3 separate regions of the Homo sapiens genome follow, and regions 1 and 3 are each linked to region 2. The links are contacts of gene promoters, found by promoter capture Hi-C in blood cells and fetal thymus (Javierre and others, 2016). All regions are on one chromosome and are shown on one strand. Each heading gives the region's core, a stretch centred on a gene start or on the middle of the fragment in contact. The rest is flanking DNA. Distances are from core to core; before and after follow the strand shown.

Region 1 (3,671 bases), core at 911-3,410, 280 kb after region 2:
GCACAAGAGCAGGCAGCAGTGTTCCGGAAGCAGCTGGCGTCACCACACCAGATGCCCTCACCTGAAGAAGTCATGAGATAGTAAGGTGCAGAGCGCTGGCCGACATTTTGGAATGGGATTCAGCAAAGTTGAGTGCAAGGTCTGTTGAAAGCTGGAGAGAACATCCGCTGAAACTGAAATCCAGAGCTACAGTTAGTTTCCAATGCCTTCTCCCTCTTTTCAGGACCTCTATAGCTGGAGACTGCCGAGAGCAAAAACCAACCTGTAAAAGCCCAAACAAACAAAGCCCTGGCTGTTGCTAAACAGCTTCCTGCTTGCCTTAGGCAAAACTCATTGGCAGGTGTAGAAAGTTGTCCTGCCACCACCATCAAACCCCACCCCAGGTGCCATTCCCTTCTATACCCTCTCATTTCCTGATTATCCATTTAACCCAGCTCAGGCCCAAAGAAGAAGGGCTAACAGTGATAGGTTTGAGGGTCTTTCTCAACAGGGGTTCCTCATCCACAGAACAGTTATATGAATGATTATATTTACAATTCTTCCAAGGATAGTAAATAATTGCTACCATTCTAAATACATAGAATAGTTAGTTCATTATACACAATGGATGCCTTTGGGCCTTAGGATTTAATTCTCAAGTATTTAGGATGGGACAATTTAGAGCTGACAGCTGAATCAGAACACTGCATAAGCCTGGCAGAATAAACCGCATTAGAACTGGCACAAAGCTTGAGCCATGTGAGATGTAGGCCAATAAGGGGCCTACTGTGACACATGCCTCAGTAAACTCAATGAGTGGAAAATTAAAGTCCTAAAGTGGGCACAGGAGAGTGAAGCAGGCTGCCAAGCATGCAGTTAGAGAACACAGAAGAGAGGAGAAAACAATGTCTTTAGCAGCCTGAGCTTTAAGAGGCAATGAAAGAAAAAAGTGAAGAGTAAATTAATAGGAAAATAAATCAAATGAGCTTTGAAAGAATAAAGAAATGTTGAGCTCAATTTAACAAAAAATTATGAATTTTACCCTATTATTCAGATTATTACATATAAATCATTAATGATAGTTATGTACTTATTGGCCGGTTCAATAAGGAATAGAGTCTACATTTAGACCGCTTAAGTACTATTACCAATTAATAAGGTAATCACACATGATACTGACAGCCATAGTTCAAAGTGCTTCCTACTTAAAATTCTTTTCACCATGCAAACTAATGAAACCCAAAGCTTCTTTCCTTACTGTTCTTAGTATCTGCCCTAAAAAAGTTACCTGGTAAGCAAAAGATTCCTTACTGTGCTCAAAGACTGTAGTCCTTTGAATTCCACACAGAATACGTCATGGATGATTTTCCTACTTATTCTATAGATGCAGTAGTATAACTCCAACTCACCCTGTTCATTTAAGATTGTGAGCAAACTTTCCACCAATGTTCCAAATGAAAAGGCATCCCGGGCATGTCCATGACACTCTGGGAGAGTTGTGAATTCTGGAGACTAAAAGCAGTGAAGACAATTAAAACTAGAGGATCTGCCTTATAAGCCATTTCTAATTTTCTCTGAAGCACCTTCTCCCATGTTTGTATTTATTATACTCAAATCTATCTTCAGACCACCACACATGAATGTATAGATTCTTAACACTATTAGTGAATAGAATTTGTTGAAGATTGTAAAACATTAAAATGAGCAAAAATTTTTAAAAAGGTTAGAATATGGCACATGTCGGTGGCTTTTACAAATATTTTCACAGCAATCCATGGTAAAGAATATGTCTTATATCATGCTCTACTATACATACACGTGCATAAATACACACATAATGGAAACAAAAGTTTCATAAAACAGTGCTTAGCCTTACTATCTAAGATGCCCAAAGACATGTTCTTTTATTCTTTTTTTTTTTATAAAATGCTAGTCAGGACCCCCTAAATTGACTTAAAACCCGCAAATCACCGATTTTAAAAACACTAGTATATATACATAATACTGATTTGGATAAATCTGATTTATTTCAAGTCTTAGGTCTATACTTAAGTTTATAGTTGAGTTCATATTTCCTGTAAAGCACACTAAATATATCTTTGGGGATTATTTATAGTGGCTATAAGAACAAATTTATAGAAGGAGCATCTGCTTTTGAATTTATTGGTAAATAGAATTTTTCTTTACCAGCACTCTTAATAATCATTCTTCTGTGCATCTTGAAATCCTAAGTAATGGGCAGCTAGAGATAGATGAATGGTTTGGGTGACATACAAGAAAGGACTAGGGTTTTTGCTTCCATAATTATTATGGATTCCAGCAAAGTGCAACTACTGATAATGGTTTCACTGTTTTCCCACCCAAATCTCATCTTGAATTATAACTCCCACAATTCCCACGTGTCCTGGGAAGAACCAGTGGCAGGTGACTGAATTATGGGGGGCAGGTCTTTCCTGCCCTGTTCTCATGATAGTGAATGGGCCTCACAAGATCTGATGGCTTTAAAAAAGGGGAGTTTCCCTGCATAAGCTCTCTTCTCTTGTCTGCCACCAGGTGAGACGTGCCTTTTGCCTTCTGCCATGATTTTAAGGAACTCCCCAGCCACGTGGAACTTTTGTAAATTGCCCAGTCTTGGGTATGTCTTCATCAGCAGCGTGAAAACAGAGTAATACAGTAAATTGGTACCAGTAGAGTGGGGCGTTGCTGAAAAGATACCTGAAAATATGGAAGGGACTTTGGAACTGGGTAACTGGCAAAGGCTGGAACAGTTTGGAGGGTTCAGAAGAAGACAGGAAAATGTGGGAAAGTTTGGAATTTCCTAGAGACTTGTTGAATGGCTTTGACAAAAATGCTGCTAGTGATATGAACAATAAGGTCCAGGCTGAGGTGGTCTCAGATGGAGATGAGGAACTTGTTGGGAACTGGGGCAAAGGTGACTCTTGTTATGTTTTAGCAGAGACTGGTGGCATTTTGCCCCTGCCCTAAAGAACTGTGGAACTTTGAACTTAAGAGAGGATTTAGGGTATCTGGCGGAAGAAATTTCTAAGCAGCAGAGCATTCAAGAGGTGACTTGGGTGCTGTTAAAGGCATTCAGTTTTAAAAGGAAAACAGAGCATAAAAGCTTGGGAAGTTTGCAGCCTGACAATGCAATAGAAAAGAAAATCTCAGGTGACATTCAAGGCAGCTGCAGAAGTTTGCATAAGTAATGAGGGGCCAAATGTTAATCCCCAAGAAAATGGGGAAAATGTCTCCAGGGCATGTCAGAGATCTTCATGGCAGCCCCTCCCATCACAGGCCTGCAGGCCTAGGAGGAAAAAGTGGTTTCATGGGCGAGGCCCAGGGTCCCCATGCTGTGTGAAGCCTAGGGACTTGGTGCCCTGCATCTCAGCCGCTCTAGCCATGGCAGAAAGGGGCCAACGTAGAGCTCAGCATGTGGCTTCAGAGGGTGCAAGCCCCAAGCCTTGGCAGCTTCACATGGTGTTGAGCCTGCAAGTGCACATTAGTCAAGAACTGGGGTTTGGGAACCTCCACCTAGATTTCAGAAGATGTATGGAAATGCCTGGATGCCCAGGCAGAATTTGCTGCATGGGCAGGGCCCTTATGGAGAACCTCTACTAGGGCAGTGTGAAAAGGAAATGTGAGGTCGGTGCCCCCACACAGAGTTCCTACTGGAGCACTGCCTAATGGAGCTG
Region 2 (3,925 bases), core at 556-3,055:
GTTAGAACAAGTTCTTAGTTTAAGCAGCCAGATATATGGATTAGATTTTTCATAAGAAAATGCTAGAGAGAAATGATATGATTTAGGGTTAAACAATATGACAGTTTGTCTGGGTTGTGTTTCTATGGTTTTGACTCAACAATTCCTACCAGAGGAACGAATCTCCAGAACTTTGGAAACTTACCCACAGGATGAGGGGACAGAATGACCAGTCATGGTTCCCTGTGTACTCACCATGTGAATCAGACCTTTGCCCTATCTGGTTCTGCCTCCGGTATTTTGCTTGTTATTTTCAACGCTAACTACAGACAAGAGAAAAAACTCCCAAGCATGAACCCAGCATGCTACAAGAAAGCCAACAACCAAGTCTGCATTCTACTCATGAGCAGGCAAGATTAGTGTTAGAAGGACTGTTATTTTCCTTGGGGTTTTAGCTTACGGCAGTTCCCAAAGGGTGTGGGTGTGACCTAGATTATCACTTTGAAGTACGATATTTAAAATGATTATTTTTGAGAAGGAGGGATCTCTTCTTATTATAAGACCAAGATGGTATGTAATACCCTCCAAAATAACCCAGTTACAATGAGAGTTTTAAAAAGGTTAATATTATACACTAAAAGATCTCAAAATATTACATTATTTTTTGGCAGATTACTTTGGTTTTGTAATTGTAAAAGAGGAACACATCTTTCATAATGAAGTGTGATGTAAGGAAAAAAAGTGAGTCACACTAGCAGGTTTACCATTTAAAAAATAACTAACTGGAAATATTGAATAGACTGTATGATTTAGTTAATTTCTGAGAAGTCTTATTTTTAACATTTCAATTAGAAAAAATAGTTTGCAACTCAAGGATAGTATTTTATCTGAATTAAACCTCCTCTCAGTTACATATGCCTTTAAGTAGCCAAGGTAAACCATATCCCAGGACATGATGAACAGAGAGAAAAAAAAATGAAGAGTCACATTCAATAGGATAAATAAGTCAAATATGAAGCAGAAAAAAGGTGAAAGTACAAAAACATACAAGAACTGATGATATTTTGAAAGTCATTTATAAGGCAGCAATAAAATTATATGACAAAAAGCACAAGGTGTTCATTTTTAGTTTTAGAAGATGAAGCTATGTAGACAATGGAATAAATAATATGTAACTAGGAGTCTCATAAAAATACTATACAACTAAAAATCTGGAACAGGAGTTTGCAGGAAGGGCTAATGAGGGAGCAAGTGCCTGGTGCCTTTGAATTAACCAATATATAAGCCAACACAAACATACTAACAAAACTGTATTGAAAATAAACTTGAAAAGAAGGTAGCATCTAACCAATCAAATAGGGTGCTTTCTAAACCCTCAGAATGATAAACTACATTGTTGGATGCAAAATTAGCATTTGCCCAGTTTATTTAATTCAGTATACTCTCCTATTAGTTATATTTACTTACCTGAAGTTAAAAAAAAAAAAAGCCATGACATTGCAAAGGGAATGTTCTCTAAAAGAAATAGATTTTCCTCTCTAGAGAAGCCCACCCGGACTCCACACCTGAGTTACCTTGAGTTTGTGGGCTCAGGTCGGTAGCTCCAACTGATGCCCTGAGCAGCCACGTAGAACTGCCTTAGCTGTGCCGCTTCTGTCCCTTGGCTCCCCCAGCCTACCCAGCTGGTGCCCAAGACCACCAGGACCCAGAGGCGTGGGCAGCCTGGGAACATGCTTCCTTTCCTGCTCCCGCTGGCTGCCACCACCCCAGGACCTGGGCAGCGCTTGCCGAGCTGCTAACCACACTCCGGGCTGTCCCAGCTGCAATGAGCTCTAGAGGCTGTGGGTGGCAGCGTCCTCCTCCCCTGCAGTTCTTGCAAACGGCAGCAGCAGCCTCTGGCTCTCACTCCCTCCGCTTTTTCTGGGGCTTTTCCTGGCAGGGGTTTGGTGAGATCACAGCTCCCAGTGACCAGAGGTATTAGGGAGAGCAACCAAACTAGTGACTGTTTTACTGCAGGTGAAGAAGGGGCAGAGATCAGAGGCTCTAGCAGGCGGGACAATGCCCAGGGATTCATGAGCCGGACAAAGCTGTATCCCTCCATTTCCACCTGCCAACACCACGGAAGCAGTCGTCCGTTACCACTGACCTGAGGCCTGCCTGGGTCCAAGCTCACACTTGGAGAACCTTCTGTGCAGTGCAGTGGCACCCAACCACCTTAAGCAGATGGCTCCCCTTTTAATCTGAGGAAAAGAGTATTGTGCCCTGTTACTGGGCACTGAAACACTATTTTCAAGTGGTGAAGAAGCAGGGAACAAACACATGGACAAGGCCTACTGCTCTGAATCGCCTTCCTGGCCTCTATCAAGGCACAGTTCTGCCTTGATAAGGGCCTGTCGCCAGCTAAGCTGCAGCATAGCAGCGGGCTTGAAGAGCTTGGCTGAAAAAAATCAGTTGTCCAGATTTCAGTTTCACTTACTAGCTGTGTTGTCTTGGGCAAGTTACTGTACCTCTCTGTTCAGTTTTGACATCTGTGAAATAAGGATGACAATAATAATTTTTCCTGATAGGGTATGTTGGGAGGATAAAATGCTACTGTAAACTATAGTTCCAGCACTTAACACACAGAGGCTAGGCGCAGTGGCTCACGCCTGTAATCCCAGTACTTTGGGAGGCCAAGGCGGGTGAATCACCTGAGGTCAGGAGTTCAAGACCAGCCTGGCCAACATGGTGAAACCCTTCTCTACTAAAAATATAAAAAATTAGCCGGGCGTTGTGGTGGACACCTGTAATCCCACCTACTCGAGAGATTGAGGCAAGAGAATTGCTTGAACCTGGAAGGTGGAGTTTGCAGTGAGCTGATATCATGCCATTTTACTCCAGCCTGGGCAACGAGAGCAAAACTCCATCAAAAAAAAAAAAGAAAGAAAGAAAAAGAAAGAAAGAGAAAAAGAGAGAAAGAAGGAATCACAAATTTATTATTATGATCATATTTTCCTGTCTCCAGGACCCCTTGTATTCTTGTTTTTCTTGAAGGATCTGACTGTTTCACAGCACCTTAAATCTTACTTTGCTATTGATAGAGAATCTGCGAATTATATTGTCTGAGGCATCATAATGACTTGTCCTGGGTTCCCTGTATCTGCATGGCTCCAGGTTTCTGTCTTATGCTTTATGCATTCAGTACATTCAATAAATTGTAATCTGGCACCTCACATGAGGTCTCTGTTAATGATATCAGGCTCATCAACAGCCTCTTCCTCCCTCCCCACTCCCCCCAATATTCTGTCTTTTCTCCTGTGCTGATATTATTGCACCAACTTAGAATGCCCATTTTCTTCCTCTTTGCTGGGCCATTCTTTACAGTCCAGAGTTCTGCCTATCTCCCAGATTCTGGGCTCAAATTGGCTTTTCCATTTTATGAACTATTACAACACTATTCAAATTATATAATCATGTTAATTACCTTTTGTTATTCCATGCAGGTATCTATTGTCTCCCTAACTGAACAGTTGCTTACACTTCTTTATCTACAATATTATCAGTGTCTCCCAAAGTTGGCAGACCATCAGAATTCCCAGGGGAACTTTTACAAAATGTAGATTCTGACTCAGGAAACAGGGTTGAGACCAAAGTCCTAGAACACCTAGCCTACTGATTGACATTTAAATAAGCAGTCAGAGATGCTACTGGCAGTGTATCAGAGAAACGTTTTGAAAGCACTGTGTCCCTAAATCCCAAGGTTACTACCAGAATTGTTGCAACATTATTGTAACCTTTGAGTAGGCTGCTTTTTTATTTGCATGTTTGCTTATGTATATACAGTGTACATGACATATTTATTTAATTACATTTTACAGAGACAAGATGACTACTATAATTTTTGGCTCTCTATTTTTTTTAACATCAGTTCCAGATAAATACTATATAACTTTCAATGACCTATTTA
Region 3 (3,939 bases), core at 1,065-3,564, 310 kb after region 2:
GTGGATTAGGAAAGGTTTTTCCTCCCTATTAAAGGAAATGGCTGTGGGTGTAACAGCAGCAGCCACCCAAGCACCAGGAGACAGCGGGAGAACATGCTGAGGATGTCGATTTGAAAGACAGAAGGATTCTCTTGCCTTTCACACTATCCCTCGAGAGTTCATAACTATGTTTTTCCTCCTTTTACAGGAGGAGTAGAGATGAGTCCCTTCAACCAGTACGTGAAATCTTCTGCAGTCAACACAGCTACTTGCTGGCCCACCCTCTTCCCAGTGTCCTCACCTCTGAGTCTTTGCTGGCCTTCCCACCCTGTTCCTTGCTCCCTAATCTTATGTCCAGATGTGCTGAGCTCCAGGGTATCCTCTATAATCATTCATCAGCCTAGAGGACTCTGTATTTCCTTTCATTTCCCCAAGGTAAACCCACTCCTCCAAATATCAATGAGAAGGGAATATTTTGCAGTGAATGGAGTAGGAGAGAGATGGGAGGGAGTTTGACACTCAGTCCTTCCCCTCTTCACTCTTCATCTACTCACCTATTTGCTCTTGATGTCACTCAGGTCTCTGAACAAATGTCACCTGTTCAGACTCTTAAAGATTTGGGGCATTGAAATCACAGGCTAACTTGTATATTTTTGTCCAACAAAGATGCAAATCTTTCTGTCCAGTGGAAAAGTTAACCCCAAAGTTTATTCTTATTGCACTAGAGAGCATTTCTCATTTTAAAATCTAATCTAGTAATCTTACTGTATTTCTTTATAAAATTGCTTGTAAGTATGTAGCTACACAAATGCTCTTTGAACAGTCTTAATGTCTTTTTAGTTTCCTCATTAACTAATGTGTTCATTTTATATTTGCATGAGAGTTATAATTATATTTTGAAAATTCTACTTGAATGCAATTTATCAGAGACAGCTCCCCTGAAAACACTGTCTAAAACAGCACCTTACCTGCCTCTTCCTGTCTTTTGACTTTGCCTTATTTTGCTTAACACCAATGCACATATTTGTTCAGCATCTCTGTCCCACAGCTAGAACATCAGCTCCCTGAAAACAGGGCTTCCTTCCTTCATTTCTTTCTTTCCTGCCATATTTCTAGCACATAACACAGTGCCTAGAACATACTAGGTACTCAGTAAATATTAAACACACAAATGAATTTACTGAGAGCACACTGCATGTCCCAGGCACCCTCCCTACATCTCTCTGCCTCCCAGCCCTTACCCCACAGAGCCCTCTATAGCTCTGGTTCCAGTTCTCAGTTCCCTGGAGCTGCTCTCTGAGCTCCTTCTGCCTTTCTTATGCATAGAAATCTTGTATTCCCTCACTGATTCCTCAGTCCTCATTTTAAATATGTCTAAGGCCAGGAAAGAAAAGAATCTCCAACAACCTGAATCCGCTGTCCTTGGAATGTGGCTGGTGGGACAGTTAGAAACAAATAGTTTGTTTTCTTAATAGAAATAATTTTTTCTTGTCATACTGTTTAAGGATCAACCTGAATTTTACTTCCAACCAATCCTCTTCTTAATTCAAATCAAAACATGTCAATGGTATTCAGCTTGACTTTTAGGTGTTTTTTTAATTAATCTTTTTCATGTTTCTAACTTAGATTCCCAAGTAGACTATAAGTATCTTGGATATATTCCTGGTTCTATAAAAGCCTTAGCCATCCAACTTAATTATTTTTTTCCAACTTGATTTGAACTAACTTTTTTACAAGCTCTACCTGAAAACCAAAGAGAGTAAAAGTTATTCAAGTGATTTCTATTTAATGTTCTACCTCAATAATTTGTGTAATTGCATAATTGCAATTAGAATCTGGAAGTGTAAAGGGGGAAACTTGCATGAATGACAAACCCTCCTTCAGGCACATTTCAGATAAATACATATAGCATCCATAAGTAGTGGATACCTTATAGAAAACTGAACTGGACCTAAGCCACTTTGTTCTCTCGTTGTTTTTAGGAACTTTGCATAGATATTGGAAGATTTCTCTAATGAGAAGTATGTGTTTTCTAAGTTCCACCATAACCTTGCTACCACTACAAAGAGAGAATGAAAGCAAGTCTGAGGTGGGATTCTACACATTCACACGTTTATTAGCAAGGTTTAAAGACAGGCAGTAGAGCTGTTATACAAACTCAGTGAGGTTCCACTTCCTTGTGTAGGAGCTTGAATAGCATCTTGCATGAAAGGTCCATCCACTGCAGGAAGATGGGACAGTATTCTAATAGCAGACTCAGCTATCCTCATTAGAGCTGGGTGACAAAATCTTCTTGTAATCTTCTCCATATGGGGCTGGTCTGAAATCCTAAATCTAGGGCACCTTTCCAAAGTGTGTAGATTGCTAGACTCACTAGATTCTCATACTCTGATCATGTAAGGCATGGCAACATTTCTATTCATTCTGTCCATCTTGAAATTACTTATTTTGGCCATGAAAATTCACTTTTAAACATCCTTAAAGCCACTAGTATTGATCTGAGTTAGAGATAGCTGAAGTGTTTGTAGTATCTGCCCCAGGAGTATAGACTTCTCATTGAAATCTTTCAGATGCTAAAAGCCTCTGAAGTGTGAATTGCTTCTCAACTTCAAAGAGCCATGAATCATCTTGGAATCATACTCCTGGGAGAAAGATTTGGGGCAAACAATGTGTGCATTATATATCTACCTCTTCTTTGAAATACTTCAGCCTTCAGGGAGATACAGATGTGTACTAACTTAGATCTATCCTGTAGGGGTGGTTAATTAATATTTGAAGGCAACATGAGCATCCTCTGGAAGCATGTTAAAAATGCAAAAGCTGAGGCCTCACGCTAGATTGTCGAGTCAGAATCTACATTTTAACAGGATCTTTAGGTGATTTGCAGGCACCTTCCTTGCAGGAAGGTTTGAGAACTGCCCTAAATGATCTAAGGCCTCCCTCCTTTGGCCTCACTGCTATCCTCCTGCTCACTAACTCTGGTCCATGCTCAGTGGCCTCCTTGCTGTCCTGTCAGCATGCCAGGTGAGCTCTTGCCTTAGGACTTTTGCTCTAGCGCTTCCTTTTCCTGTCATTCTCTTTTCCCACATGTCCATTTGACTAAGTCTGTTACTTCTATTTTTTGTTCAGATCTCGTCTTCTCAATGAAGTCTGTCCTGATCCACCCTATCTAATTCTACAACGTTTACCTTCCTTCCTGCTACACTCCTGGTGCTTCCTATCCTGTTTTCTTTTGCTTTTTCCCTCCATAGCACTGACCGTCTTATAAACAGCCATATACTGTATTTTCTAGATTGTAAAAACTATAGTTTTTCACATTTTAACATCCCTGAAGGTCAGAATGCATTTTACCACAAATGGCATAATATAATTTGTCAATAATTTTTTCTTAGTGGTACCAAATATATTGATGCTTCCTAAATGTGATGGCATCATATATTTGATGAAATATGACAATTTGCTTATGTATTATGGCTTTTGGTTTTGAGAGAAAACAATTATCTGAAACTTTAAAATAGGCAAAAGAGGTTACTGTGGCTTTCTTCCCATGCAATTCTGGATTAAATTCCTATTGACTAGGTTATTTTACTACTTCTTTATTACCTTTTTAGGGGCAGAGGCTAACTTTTTCATTTTCATCCACTAGAGATGTAAATAAGTTTGTCCAGCACAGCAAATCATCTTAATGGTTACAGTTTATTGTCCTGTAAGTTATTAACCCAGCAACCTGAACCTGACATGTCTTTATCAAATTGCCTACATATACACCTATCTTCTCAGCTGCTATTTGGACTAGTTTAAAATCTTACTGATTCCCTCATTAATAAAAACATTAAATAGAGTCTTTGACATGTGTTCATTTTATATTTGCCTGAGAAACCTCATTGTACTTTTTTAAAAAAATTACATTTTAATGGTTTATTTCTCCCCTGCTAGAATGTTAAGTTTCACAAGGGAAAA

Evidence for each region. The method cuts DNA at HindIII sites, captures the fragments that hold promoters and counts their contacts. A CHiCAGO score of 5 or more calls a contact.
Region 1: a contact is called between a fragment that was not itself captured here and the fragment with the promoter of F5 in region 2, in 1 of 17 cell types (neutrophils). The highest score is 5.9, in neutrophils.
Region 3: a contact is called between a fragment that was not itself captured here and the fragment with the promoter of F5 in region 2, in 1 of 17 cell types (neutrophils). The highest score is 6.8, in neutrophils.

What each region holds. Positions count from the first base shown.
Region 1 is chr1:169,868,867-169,872,537 of GRCh38, forward strand. It overlaps SCYL3 (SCY1 like pseudokinase 3), which reads right to left. Exons shown (of 13, transcript NM_020423.7): 6 at 1,389-1,491; 7 at 62-173. Among named protein-coding and RNA genes, the nearest start is that of SCYL3, 23 kb to the right of the region's middle. The HindIII fragment of the contact is 1,876 bases long and covers 1,223-3,098 here.
Region 2 is chr1:169,584,676-169,588,600 of GRCh38, forward strand. It overlaps F5 (coagulation factor V), which reads right to left and starts at 1,806. Exons shown (of 25, transcript NM_000130.5): 1 at 1,554-1,806. The coding sequence starts at 1,711. RefSeq lists enhancers at 1,280-1,781, 1,782-2,281. The HindIII fragment of the contact is 11,391 bases long and covers 1-3,925 here.
Region 3 is chr1:169,897,090-169,901,028 of GRCh38, forward strand. No RefSeq gene overlaps it. Among named protein-coding and RNA genes, the nearest start is that of SCYL3, 5.2 kb to the left of the region's middle. The HindIII fragment of the contact is 5,358 bases long and covers 1-3,939 here.